Linked DNA regions of Homo sapiens: region 2 is linked to region 1. The links are contacts of gene promoters, found by promoter capture Hi-C in human tissues and cell types (Jung and others, 2019). All regions are on one chromosome and are shown on one strand. Each heading gives the region's core, a stretch centred on a gene start or on the middle of the fragment in contact. The rest is flanking DNA. Distances are from core to core; before and after follow the strand shown. Region 1 holds the start of COL23A1 (collagen type XXIII alpha 1 chain). Region 2 has its middle 3.5 kb from the start of GMCL2.

The links. Contacts are between HindIII fragments. The study calls those that stand out against the background at their distance.
Region 2: a fragment that was not itself captured here is called in contact with the fragment with the promoter of COL23A1 in region 1 in 1 of the 25 tissues and cell types used here (spleen).

What each region holds. Positions count from the first base shown.
Region 1 is chr5:178,587,657-178,593,767 of GRCh38, reverse strand. It overlaps COL23A1 (collagen type XXIII alpha 1 chain), which reads left to right and starts at 3,375. Exons shown (of 29, transcript NM_173465.4): 1 at 3,375-3,864. The coding sequence starts at 3,571. RefSeq lists a silencer at 3,174-3,373 and an enhancer at 4,029-4,929. The HindIII fragment of the contact is 6,512 bases long and covers 613-6,111 here.
Region 2 is chr5:178,187,486-178,194,197 of GRCh38, reverse strand. No RefSeq gene overlaps it. Among named protein-coding and RNA genes, the nearest start is that of GMCL2, 3.5 kb to the right of the region's middle. The HindIII fragment of the contact is 8,651 bases long and covers 1-6,712 here.

The DNA.
Region 1 (6,111 bases), core at 2,126-4,625:
TTCAGTTTATACTGTGAGATATTAGTGAAGCCAGAACTAGAATCTGGGCATTGAATCAAAACCTGGTGCCTTTTTTAACATTGCCTTCTTAAAAAAATTTTTTTAAATAACATTACCTTATATAAAAAAAACACAACACCCTTTGCTATCCCTTTAAACCTTGTGGCTTAATTTAAACAATTTTCTGCTGAAAATTTTTATAAACTGGATTACATATCCATGCCTTCTTGAACAGCAGTTTGAACATATTTGAACCTTTTCATTATTAACATTCCTTCTTCAGTGGTTGTCCATCCTATCTGACCCAAATAATCCCTATTTTATAAAATAGTTTGATATGCTCCCTTTATCTCCAAGAGTCTGAGCGTTTGTAGATCATCAGGTCAGGGTTGCTACACATTTTTGTTCCAGTTGCAATTGGGCAAAGGCGTACCATGAGGTGCCTGGCCTATTCTTTCCTGCACCCTGTATGAAAGCAGCCCTACCTCTTCCTCCTCATTAGGGTCAATTGCCTCTGCCAAATGGTGCTGTCTTGATTTCAGGTCCCTATATACAGAGTTCAAAGTGCCCTGGGTGGCAGCAATAGCTTATAGTTTAATGGAACCCCTACTGTGTCCCCTGGCAAGAATGTAACCCCTTTGAGAACTAGGACCTCCAACTCTCTAACAGGAAGCATAACATCCCCCATGGGGTCATGGGGAGGGATGGCTAGTGCTTCTACCTGTGGGTTCATGGACTCACGTATTCTTACTGGGAGCACAGCATCATATAGAGGTTCCTGATTTAACACACACACTACATCCTGAGAGATGGCACTAAATCCTTCAGGGAGTGGCCCCTGAGCTGGTGCTTCATCTGTGCCTTCAGAAGGCAGTTCCAGTATTCTGTGAGGCTGGTTGCTCCTGACCAGTGCAGGATGCAACACAACCAGTGGATTCCTTGGTCCATGGGTTCAGCCCCAGACCTTTACTGTAAAATGGGTGCCCTGGTTGGGTGTGGTGGTGTGTGAGATCCTGTACCTGTGGGTTGGGCATTCTGTAAGGATAGCAATGCTGGCTGAGGCTCTGCAGGCAGGAAAGACAAGCCCACACCTGGTGCTGTCCCTGTGAGGGGCAAACCATTGGTCCTTGCAGGAAGGAGGGAATCCAAAGTAGCTGTTTTGCCACCACGTGGCCAGTTAGTCTGCCTGAGGAGTACCTTGTTTAGTCTATTGCTGACAGGTTAGCCATTCATAGGCAGCAGTAGCGGGATTGGTGTAAGTGCTGTCTACCTGTTAGGTGATGCTACACACGATAGGTTAGTGGATATTCTTTTATTCCCCCTCAAGATCTGCCCTTCTTCCTTCTGCCTCTGCTCTCTGCCCTCTAGGAGGCTGGCCCCTGCCCTGGAGGTTTGGTCATTGGAAGGCCCCAGTAGATCAGAGAGCAGGAGAGAGCAGTTGAGTATTTATTCTGTGAGCTCCCTCCCTTTCAAGCCATGGCTTTGCAGAGGCTGTTCCCCTTAACCAAGGGCCACAGGTGCTGTGGAGCAGCCCTCTTCTATAGCTCCAAGTTCCCCAGGGTTCCCAGTTAGGGATGGTAATGGCCTCCCACTGTCAATACCCGCAGAGTGCTGCTTCGGCCTCCCCTGCTGGCCCCTCTGATCTCCACTTTGTGAAGTGGCTCTACATTCAGGCTGTCTTGAGTCACCCTCTCTGAGGATGCCATCTATTCTTCCAGGACCCTAATGGACACAAGTAAGTCATTTTCTTTTTCGCCTTTTAGAATGAGTTGCAGACAGTATTTCCATCTTAATTCAGCCGCCCCAATTCCCTGATTAATCTTGTGGGCCACCTTAAATTGGGCAGTCTGGGAAGATCTTTTAGAAGCAGTGAGGTTGAGGACCTTGACCTGGAGGATGAGGAGGGGCTTGCCGTTTAACGATCTGAGAGCAGGAATGCAGGTAGTGAGGTGGTAGGCAAGGGCAGAGGCCCAGGGGCCAGTGAGCTTGGCTTTTTCAATACACAGAAGCTTCAGGAACATGGCAAACAATACATGCAGTAACATTAACATAGGTAGGTGGTGTGCAGTTTATGTGCCTGTAAGAAATGTAGTGCTGACTTGTAAGAGGGTGTTGGCCTCTTTTCAGAATGAGGCCAACTTTTCATTCTATTGGGCATACACCAGACTTTAGCACAGAGCCAAGTCTATCAACCATAACCCCCGGCCATCTCAGGGGTTCCCCTCTGAATTAAGGGAAGGAGATGGAACATGTTAGCCAGAGGCACTCAACAGTTCTAAAAGGTGAGTATCCACAGAAATGAGACAACCAGAAGATATCCAGAGTGAGAGGGAAGATGGATATAACGTTATTTTTCTTAAAAAAAAATGGTTGGGGGGTTACTCAAATCACAAAGATCTGAACTGCTGGTTTGTTGTTTCATTTAGGTATTACAGGAGTTAGCGAAAGAGTTACTTGGGACCCATTTAGGACATGAATATGCCTGGTAGGAATCTGAACCCAGCCTGACTTCCAGCAGTTCTTCCCTTTCCTGCCAAGACTTGTTAGTGCCACTCATTCTGTTCTCTGGACCCAGGCTGTACGCCACAGCCTTCTTGCCTCAGCCCTGTGATTTAAATTTGCAGCAGAATCGCAGTACAGGTTAAGTGTGGTGCATACTAGATCATAATTTTTGGCCAAGTTGTGCGTCTAATACAGAATTAAGTCATCAGTTGAACAAGACTTGAAGTTCATTTTCTGAATCTTTCCCATTCGTTATAGTCTCAGTTTTCTCAAAAGCCCTCTCCAGGCCAGAAACAGTCTTACCATTTTTGTTTCCCGCACCGAAGTCCGGCAGCTAAGAACTCGTGAGAAGATTCTAAGGGGCGTATTTCTGTTTGGCGCAATCTCGACCCTGCCTCTCTAAATGTGAGTGCGCAGAGGTCGCTTTCCGCCACGAAGCGGCGCTAATCCACCACCGAGGACAGACCCACTCAGTTTTTTGCAGGATTTGAAGTTTTGAACTTTTACAAGTGTCAGAAAGGTAATTCACAAGTTTAGAGGAATGTGCTAAGGCACGAGTGGTGGGTGCTCCAGCCAGGGGTGGGCTGCAGAAGGGGCGCGGTGTCGCCGGGCTCCCCTCCGACCTCTGGGGTCCACAGTGCGGGCTTGGGCTGGGGAAGCCTCAGAGGTGCGTGCGGGGGCGGGTGCCGGCGCCCGGGCTAGGTGAGGGCAGAGGTGCGCGCTGCGCGTGGGATCAGCCCGGCGCCGACGGGTGGCTCCGAGGAGCTCGCTCCTTCCTCGCCCCCGCCCCCTCGCCGCGCGGGGCCAGCCCGGCCGCTCCTCCCCTGGGTGGGTCCCTGCTCCTTTTCTGGCAGGGTCTATTTGCATAGAGGAAACTGCCCAAAGTGGCCGCTGTGGAGGAGCTGGCTGCGGCGAAGGGGGCGTGCGCGGCGATCCGCTGCTACCCGGAGGCTAACCCCCGCGCCCGGCGGACCTCGTGCCTCGGGCTGTCCCGCCTGCTCCTCTCGCACCCAGCCTCTGCCCCAGCAGCACCGCCCCCTCGGAGAGTCCACGCGCGACGAACGCGCCATGGGCCCAGGCGAGCGCGCCGGTGGCGGCGGCGACGCGGGGAAGGGCAATGCGGCGGGCGGCGGCGGCGGAGGGCGCTCGGCGACGACGGCCGGGTCCCGGGCGGTGAGCGCGCTGTGCCTGCTGCTCTCCGTGGGCTCGGCGGCTGCCTGCCTGCTGCTGGGTGTCCAGGCGGCCGCGCTGCAGGGCCGGGTGGCGGCGCTCGAGGAGGAGCGGGAGCTGCTGCGGCGCGCGGGGCCGCCAGGCGCCCTGGACGCCTGGGCCGAGCCGCACCTGGAGCGCCTGCTGCGGGAGGTGAGCGTCTTGGCGCGTGGCTGGGGCGGACTTGGGTGTGTCGGGTTGAGGGTGGCGGTACGCTGGGAGCCGGGGGCAGCGTGCAGGTCTCTGGGAGGAGGGTCGCCCGCCGGCTGCGTGCGCTCGGGGCCGTCCCAGAGATGGGCACGTCTGCGCCAAGGCGGAGGCAGGGGGTGCCGGCCCCAAGGGGTTTTGCGGTCTCCGCTCCGGCCTCAGGGTCCCGTGCCAGGCAGGCGGCCGCGAGAAAGGGGAAGGAGAGACCAGGGACTTTGGAGTAACAGACCTAGGGTCAGTCTCCACGGGGTGTGCGCTCGGACACGCCGCTTCCCGCCGGCGGCCAGAGTCGGGGATAAAGATGAGGCTCGTGGGAAGTATCTGGTGACTGTGACCAGTAGCACCTACTGTTCCTAACCAACGCTGGTACACCTGGAGAGGCGGTGGTCACGGCGGAGGAAAGCCTCAGACAGGCCCGAGGGCTGGGCCCCGCTGTGCTCCAGTGTGTCTCCAGCAGCTCAGGCCCCAAGACTGAGCGGTCACCGTCGCACTGAGGCCTCGGGGATGGGGGTGGGGGCGCCCACATGACTTGGTAAGATGAGAGGAAGGAGAAACAATCGGGGGTGGAGGACCTGGATTCTGGTTTCAGGCGGTGCCATCTGGGGTGTGGGCTCGCAGGACATCCGGAGTTTCCCGTCCCTTACCTGGGAATCGCGACTTCCACAGCTTACTTGAAAGCTCATATGAGGCTCTGTGACACTTCTAAGGGTTAAGATTGCTGCTGTGTGTCTTCAAAGAAAGAGCCACCTTTGGGTCCTCCAAGCCCTCACCCAGCATGTTGGTCAAAGCCTCCGCCTTTTGTGTGCGGCATGTGCGGCAGTTCCCCTCCCCACGAAACTGGACAGGCCCTGGTGGGCTGGCCAGAGCCTCCCCTGCCGAGCCTTCCTCCTTCTCCTGGGATAGATGGCTGCTCCAGACCCCAAGGTCGCTGTCCAAGGGCGCATCCTCAATTGCTGTGTGAAAACAGGCAGGGTTTCAAGGTGGAGGAGAGGGAGCACTGGCCTGTACACCCCCAATTCCCTAGACTGCCCAGCTGGGATCTTTATTAACGTATCCAGCTGTGTTTCCAATGTTGAGTTCCTTTGGATTCCAAAGGAAAGTGGGAGAAGATGACTTGCGTACCACACCTCCTTGTTCACCCCACCTGTTTCTTAGTCACTTTAATTTAAGCTAGGATCACATCTCTTCTAGCTGGGTTCTGGGTAAAATTGCTGCTTCATGAAATGATTTCCTATTTTACCCTTGAAAGGGCCTGCAGACTTAAAACTCTCTCTCAGCCCTGCTGGAAACTCCTGGCGATGGTTTCATAATTGCCGCCCATTAGCTTTTGGCAAATGCCTGGAGACCAGGGTGTTGAATTGATTTATAGAGGGCCAGTAAAGTTTCTACCTGTTAGCGCTATAAGTGTGGCTGCTCTTTCTCATAGGAGGCCTCTCTTATTTGCTAAAAATAAACCGCAAGCCCTGATTGAGTAAATCAGAAGTCCTGATACAACCATTTTACAAGGAACTACAAATTGTGTCTATTTTAGGAGGGAGGGGCATCCTGGGCAGGCAGCCACTGCTGGGAAGTGTTGATTTTTGAGTCCTGAACTTCAGCGGGAGAGACTGCAGTTGCTCTCCCAGGCTTCCCCCCTCCCGGCTGCACTGAATTTTACCTGGGTGAACTACAGTGCTTGAACAATGAGTTATTGGACAGGGTGTGTGTTCTCTCTCTCTCTCTGTTCTTGATTAGAAAGGCAAGAGAAAAATTTAGAATCCAGGGAACCCTGTATTCTGGAGAATTTGCCGTGCCATTCACACGTGGTCCTGCTCGCTAATCCCAGCTGGGTATCTGAGGCGCATGCTGTGCGTGGAGTGTAAGCTGGCTGGGTTTTCCCGCCAGTGGAGAGTCAGAGATGGTGCAGTATGAATGCAGTTGGGGCTGAACTTCTGGTTGTTTGGGTGGCCCCTGTGAGACAGCTTCTCTCTCTTAGGGTACCAGCCTGTTTCTGCTAGGAGCTATTCTTCTTGTAAATGTCACTGGATGGGAAATGTACACAGCCTGGCCGGTAACAATGAGTTCCTTGGCTGGGAGGAGAGCACTGTGGGAGGCACATACAGGGAGTGAGTAATTAACTCTAATTAGATGTATAGATACTTTTTCAAGCCATTAGATATGAAAGCCAAATAAATATTGAACTCAAAATCTCGG
Region 2 (6,712 bases), core at 2,943-5,442, 400 kb after region 1:
GGCTCCCCAGGCAGGGCAGAGGAGGCAGCAGCGGGTGGGGTGTCGAGGACAGAGACTCAGCCTCCAGTCAACACAGGGAAACAGCCAGAGGCCTTCTCCTGCTGTGAAAAGAAAGGATTCTTGGCTTCTTAGGGCTTCATGCCGTGCATGTCTTAACATACAATTTTCATATTCTGCCAGTGAACTGGTCAGAGCCCTTCTCCAACAGGGGCCAGGATGTAGGCTTGGAGTGGAAGACAAATACATGCTGTGTGCTGATCCAGGTGGGTGAGAGACAGAAAGCCCTCAGGGCAGGGTCTCTCTCTTTCATACTCACCACTTGGCCAACTGCTTGGCAACATCTTGCTTTTTAAATTTTATTTATTGATTTATTTTTTATAGAGACGTGGTCTCACTATGTTGATCAGGCTGGTCTCAAACTCCCAGCCTCAAGCAATCCTCCTGCCTTGGCCTCCCAAAGTGCTGGGATTACAGGCATGTGCCACCATGCCCAGCCAACATCTTGCTTCTTGCCACCTGCCTTGCTGCACAGCCTCTTACAGATACCCTCAAACAGCTCAGTCCCCTACCCACAAAGCCTAACCACTCCCTCAACTCACTGCTGCAGAAGCTTCCTCAGTGTGTGCCTCCGTGAACCCTGCCCCTCCACTTCACCTTAATGAGATCCAGCTGTCCCTCCGTGATCCCACACTCCACTGCTGAACACCAGGCCACGCCCTTCCACTTCCCCCCGAGGCAAATCGGGGTCATCTCACTCGGGGCGCTCCACCTTCACTACTAGAGCAGCACTGTATACCAGATACGGATGCAAAACAGCCACAAGTGCAAACACACATGTCATTTAAATTTTTCTAATAGCCACATTAAAAAGTGACTCAACAGTGAGAAGATGCTATGGTTTGGATGTGGTTTGCCCCTACCAAAACTCATGTTGAAATTTAATTGCCAATATAACGGCATTGAGACGTGGGGGGACCTTTCAGGGGTGTTTGGATCATGAGGGATGGGCCTTCACGACAGGATATTAATGCAAGTCCCATAGAAGTGAGTTCTCACTCTCTTGGGTCTGGATCAGTTACCTTCAGAGTTGGGTTGTCATCAAGCAAGGTCGCCCCTCGTGTTTTCCCCCTTTCCTCCAGGTGCCTGGTCCGCCTTCCATTTCTCTGCCACATTTTGGTGCAGCACACAGCTCTCACCAGAAGCTGCCAGATGCAGCCGTCCAATCTGGAACTTCCCAGCCTGCAGAACCGTGAGCTAAATAAACCTCTTTTCTTTAAAAATTATCCAGTCTCAGATATTCGAACAACAGAAAGTGGACTAAGACAAAGTAAAAAAAAGTAAAAAAAAAAAGGGGGGGGGGTGAAGTTAATTTCAATAATATATTTTACTTATTCTGAGATATCCAAAATATAATCAACAAAAAGTTATTGGGATATTTTCTTTTTGTACTGTCTTCAAAATCTAGTGTGTATTTTACACCTAAGCATATTTTAATTCAGTACAGCCACACTTCTTTTTCTTTTCCTCCCTCCCTTCCCTTCCTTCCTCCCTTTCTCCCTCCCTCTTTCTTTTTTCTTCCTTTCTTATTTCTTATTTTCTTTCTTCTTTCTTTTTCTTCTTTCTTTCTCTTTCTTTCTTTTCTCTCTTTCTCCTCCTCCTCCTCCTCCTTCTCTCTCTCTCTCTCCCTCCCTCTCTCTCTCTCTTTTTCTTTCTTTCCCTGTCACCCAGGTTTGGGATGCAGTGTTGCAATCATAGTTTGCTGTAACTTGAAACTGCTGGGTTCAAGCCATCCTCCCACGTTAACCTCCAAAAGTGCTGAGATTACAGGTGTGAGCCATCGTGACTGTCCCTGGCCACATTTCAAGTACTCAATAGCTGCATGTAGCCAGTGGCTACTATGATGAACAGGGCAGATCTAGACCAGGAGTTGGCAAACTATGGCCCATAGCCCAAATTTTGCTTACTGCTTGATTTTATATGATCCCTGAACAAAGAATGGTTTTTACATTTTTAAATCATTGAAAAAAAAATCAGGCTGAGTGCAGTGGCTCACACCTATAATCCCAGCACTTTGGGAGGCTGAGGCAGGCAGATCACTTGAGGTCAGGAGTTCAAGACCAGCCTGGCCTTGAACATGGTGAAACCCCATCTCTACTAAAAATACAAAAAAATTAGCCAGGTGTGGTGGCATGTGCCTGTAATCCCAGCTACTTGGGAGGCTGAGGCAGAGGATCGCTTGAACCCAGAAGGCAGAGGTCGCAGTGAGCTGAGATCACAGTCTGGATGACAGAGCAAGACTCTGTATCAAAAATAAATAAATAAATAAACAAATAAATAAATAAATAATGAAAATAATAATATTTCATGACACATAAAAATTGTATGAAACTCAACTTTCAGCATCCATAAATTAACTTTGACATTCTGTCAATAGCAATCCCCCCAAATTATGGAAGTTGGTTTCATTTCTTGGTATGTACTTACCGACTTCATACCCTCGATTTTGCCTGTTGGCCCAAAGCATAAAGTATTTATTCTAGCCAGGCGCAGTGGCTCATTCCTGTAATCCCAGCAGTTTGGGAGGCCAAGGCAGGTGGATCACTTGAGGTCAGGAGTTCGAGACCAACCTGGCCAACATGATGAAACCCCATCTCTACAAAAAATTCAAAAAATTAGCCAGGCATGGTGGCACATGCCTGTAATCTCAGCTACTTGGGAAGCTGAGGCACAAGAATTGTCTGACCCTGGGAGGTAGAAGCTGCAGTGAGCCGAGATAGCGTCATTACACTCCAGCCTGGGCAACGAGAGTGAAACTCTGTCTCAAAAATAAAATAAAATAAATTAAAAATAAATAAATAAAATAGAGATCATAAGACTGACAAAACAGACTTTTTTTTTTTAGACAGAGTTTCGCTCTTGTTGCCCAGGCTGGAGTGCAATGGCATGATCTTGGCTCACTGCAACCTCTGGCCCCCGGGTTCAAGTAATTCTTCTGCCTCAGCCTCCTGAGTAGCTGGGAATACAGGCGCCCACCACCACATCCAGCTAATTTTTTGTATTTTTAGTAGAGATGGGGTTTCACTATGTTGGCCAGGCTGCTCTCAAACTCTTGACCTCTTGACCTCAGGTGATCCACCCACCTCAGCCTCCCAAAGTGCTGGGATTACAGGTGTGAGACACCGTGCCTGGCTCAAAACAGAATTTTTGTAGCAATAAGATGCCAAATTTCTACCTGACTCTGGTACATCACGTAACAGATAGCAGACCCTGAAGGGCATCAAAATATTTTACCCCAAAATATATTTATTTGACAATATTTTGAAATGGCCCTGCAAAGCTGTCTCCCATGGGGGAAATTTGCATCTGTAGAGAATTTCCATTAATGTAGCCAGGACTTTGTCAGATTTAGGAGAGATTCAATGAGAGTCTGAGACTTTTGAAGGTCTGAAAAGAGACATTCACTATCTATTCTGAGGGCTGCTACCTGGAGGCTTCATCTACGTAACAAGAACCTCAGCTTCCACAACCCCTTTCTTAACCCAAGCATTTCTTCCCACTGACTTCAACGCTTTTTTTTTTTTTTTTGAGATGGAATCTCGCTCTGTCGCCCAGGCTGGAGTGCAATGCAACCTCCACCTCCCTGGGTTCAAGCGATTCTCCTGCTTCAGCCTCCAGAGTAGCTGAGACTACAGATGTGTGCTACCACACCCAGTTAATTTTTGTACTATTAGTAGAGACAGGGTTTCACCATATTGGCCAGGCTGGTCTCGAACTCCTGACCTCGTGATCTGCCCTCCTTGGCCTCCAAACTGCTGGGATTACAGGCGTGAGCCACCATGCCTTCAACTCTTTATTTTATTTTATCTTACTATTTTTTTTGGAGATGGAGTTTCACTCTTGTTGCCCAGGCTGGAGTGCAATGGTGCGACCTCGGCTAACTGCAACATCCACCTCCCAGGTTCAGGCAATTATCCTGCCTCAGGCTCCAGAGTAGCTGGGATTACAGATGCATGCCACCACTCCCAGTTAATTTTTCTATTTCTAGTAGAGATGGGGTTTCACCATATTGGCCAGGCTGGTATTGAACTCCTGACCTCAAGTGATCCATCTGCCTTGGCCTCCCAAAGTGCTGGGATTACAGGTGTGAGCTACTGCAACTGGCCTGTTTTATTTTATTTTTGAGACAGGGTCTCATTCTGTCCCCCGAGTTGGAATGCAGTGTCACAGTCATGGCTCACCATAGGCTCGACCTCCTGGGCTTAAGTAATCCTCCCACCTTAGCCTCCCAAGTAGCTGGGACTACAGGTGCACATCACGATGCCCAATTAATTTTTAAAATTTTTTTGTAGACACCGGGTCTCACTACGCTGCCCAGGCTTGTTGAAAACTCCTGGGATCAAGCCATCCTCCTCGGCCTCTCAAAGTGCTGGGATTACAGATGTCAGTCATTGTACCCAGCCACTTCAACTCTTTAGACAAAGCTTAACTTTTTCAACCAATTGCCAATCAGAAAACCTTTGAATCACCTATGACCTGTAACTCCCCTGGAGTTGTCCTGCCCTTATAGGCTGAAGCAATGTGTACTTTACATGTATTGATTGATGTATTTGCTTGTAACCTCTGTCTCCCTAAAATGTATAAAACCAAACTATAACCCAACCATCTGAGGCACACTTTCTCAGGACCTCTTGAGACTGTACCCCAGGTCATGGTCACTCATATCAGCTGAGAATAAACTTCTTTTTTTTTTTTTTTTTTTGAGATGGAGTCTCGCTCTGTCACCCAGGCTGGAGTGCAGTGGCGCAAGCTCTGCCTCCCGGGTTCACGCCAGAGAATAAACTTCTTTAAACATTTTACAGAGCTTTTTTTTTTTTTTTTTTTTTTTTTTGGTCAACATAGACCATTCACCTGGCCCCTTAACTCCAACAGAAACTCCAGATTTGCCTTTGGAATCAGGAGGCTGAGCTTCCTGACTTCCCAACTCTGGGATTTAGAACAAGTCACTTTCCCTATTGAAACCTCTGTTTTCTTCATCTGGGAATGGGGCAGGCACTCACATAGGTTTGAGGAAGCCACAGGGCTGGTCACTCTTCACTTGTGTCCAGCGTCCCATCCACCTCCCTGGCATGACCTTGCCTCCCCCTGCAGCACTGGCCCATCTAGGGCTCCCCACACCTACATATCTGGCCCTGATGCCCCTCGCCAATCTCTGCCCCCACTGTACCAAAGATGGAGCCCCGCATGGCGACTCCTACATTGCTCTGGGGGCACAGACCTCCATCTGCCTGGAACAGCCTCCCACCTTCCTCATCAAGTCCTGTTTTCTTACAGGAAGACACCCACATGCCCCAGCCATCCCATCCCCAAGGACTGGCCAAGCAGTTCCAGCACACCCCTCGGGTGGTCTCAGTGTGTGCCCTTCTCCAGTTCCTCCGGGTCTGGGCCTGGGTCAGCCCTTTACACACACGGGGTTCCCAACAAGTAGCTTCCAGATGGCCTGGTGAGGCTGCAGGGCAAATTTCCAGGACCATGCCCCACTTCTCCACTCCATCCCCCAAGGACAAAAGCCTCCTCAATTCCGACATCCTAATCCTGCTGCCCCTGTCTCCACAGATCCTCCCCACAGAGAATCCCTGCCTATCCTGCCCAGGCCCTCTGCTTGCTTCTGCCTTCCCAGACCGGCTGCAGTGATCATTTCACCCAGCCATGGTCACTTTCACCATATTGGCCAGGCTGGTCTTGAACTCCTGACCTCGTGATCTGCCCACCTCGGCCTCCCAAAGTGCTGGGATTACAGGTGTGAGCAGCCACCGTACCTGGCTTGACTTCAAGTCTTTATTCTATTTTATTTTATCTTATTATTTTTTTCTGGAGACGGAATTTCGCTCTTGTCGCCCAGGCTGGAATGTAATGATGCGATCTTGGCTCACTGCAACTTCTGCCTCCTGGGTTCAAGCAGTTCTCCATTTCAGCCTCCCGAAAAGCTGGGATTACAGGCGTGCACCACCACACCTGGCTAAATTTTATATTATTAGTAGAGATGGGGTTTCACCATGTTGGCCAGGCCAGTCTCAAACTCCTGACCTCATGTGATCCACCCACCTTGGCCTCCCAAAGTGCTGGGATTATAGGCATGAGCCACCGAGCCTGGCCTATTTTATTTTATTATTTTATTTTATTTTTGTGCCTGGTCGCAAATTTACATTGGACTGGTTAGGCTCAAGCGTCTGGTACACACATTTTCCTTTGTCAGGTCTTGCAAATAAAACTTTGCTCCTAGGGAAGTGGTCCTTCTAAAACGGACCTTGGTTTTGGCTGCCAGATGAGAATTGCTTCCAGCAATGAAGAATGCTGTCCAAGGAGTTCAAGACCACCCGGAGAAACACAGTGAAACCTTGTCTCTAAAAGAAATTGTTTTAGGCCGGAGGCAGTGGCTCACGCCTGTAGTCCCAGCACTTTGGGAGGCCAAGGTAAGAGGATCACCTGAAGTCAGGAGTTTGAGACCAGCCTGGCCAACATGGGGAAACCCCGCCTCTACTAAAAATACAAAAATTACCCAGGTGTGGTGGCGGGCGCCTGTAATCCCAGCTACTCAGGAGGCTGAGGCAGGAGAATCACTTGAACCCGCGAGGCAGAGGTTGCAGTGAGCCGAGATCGCGCCACTGCACTCCAGCCTGGGCGACAGAGCAAGACTCCGTCTCAAAAAAAAAAA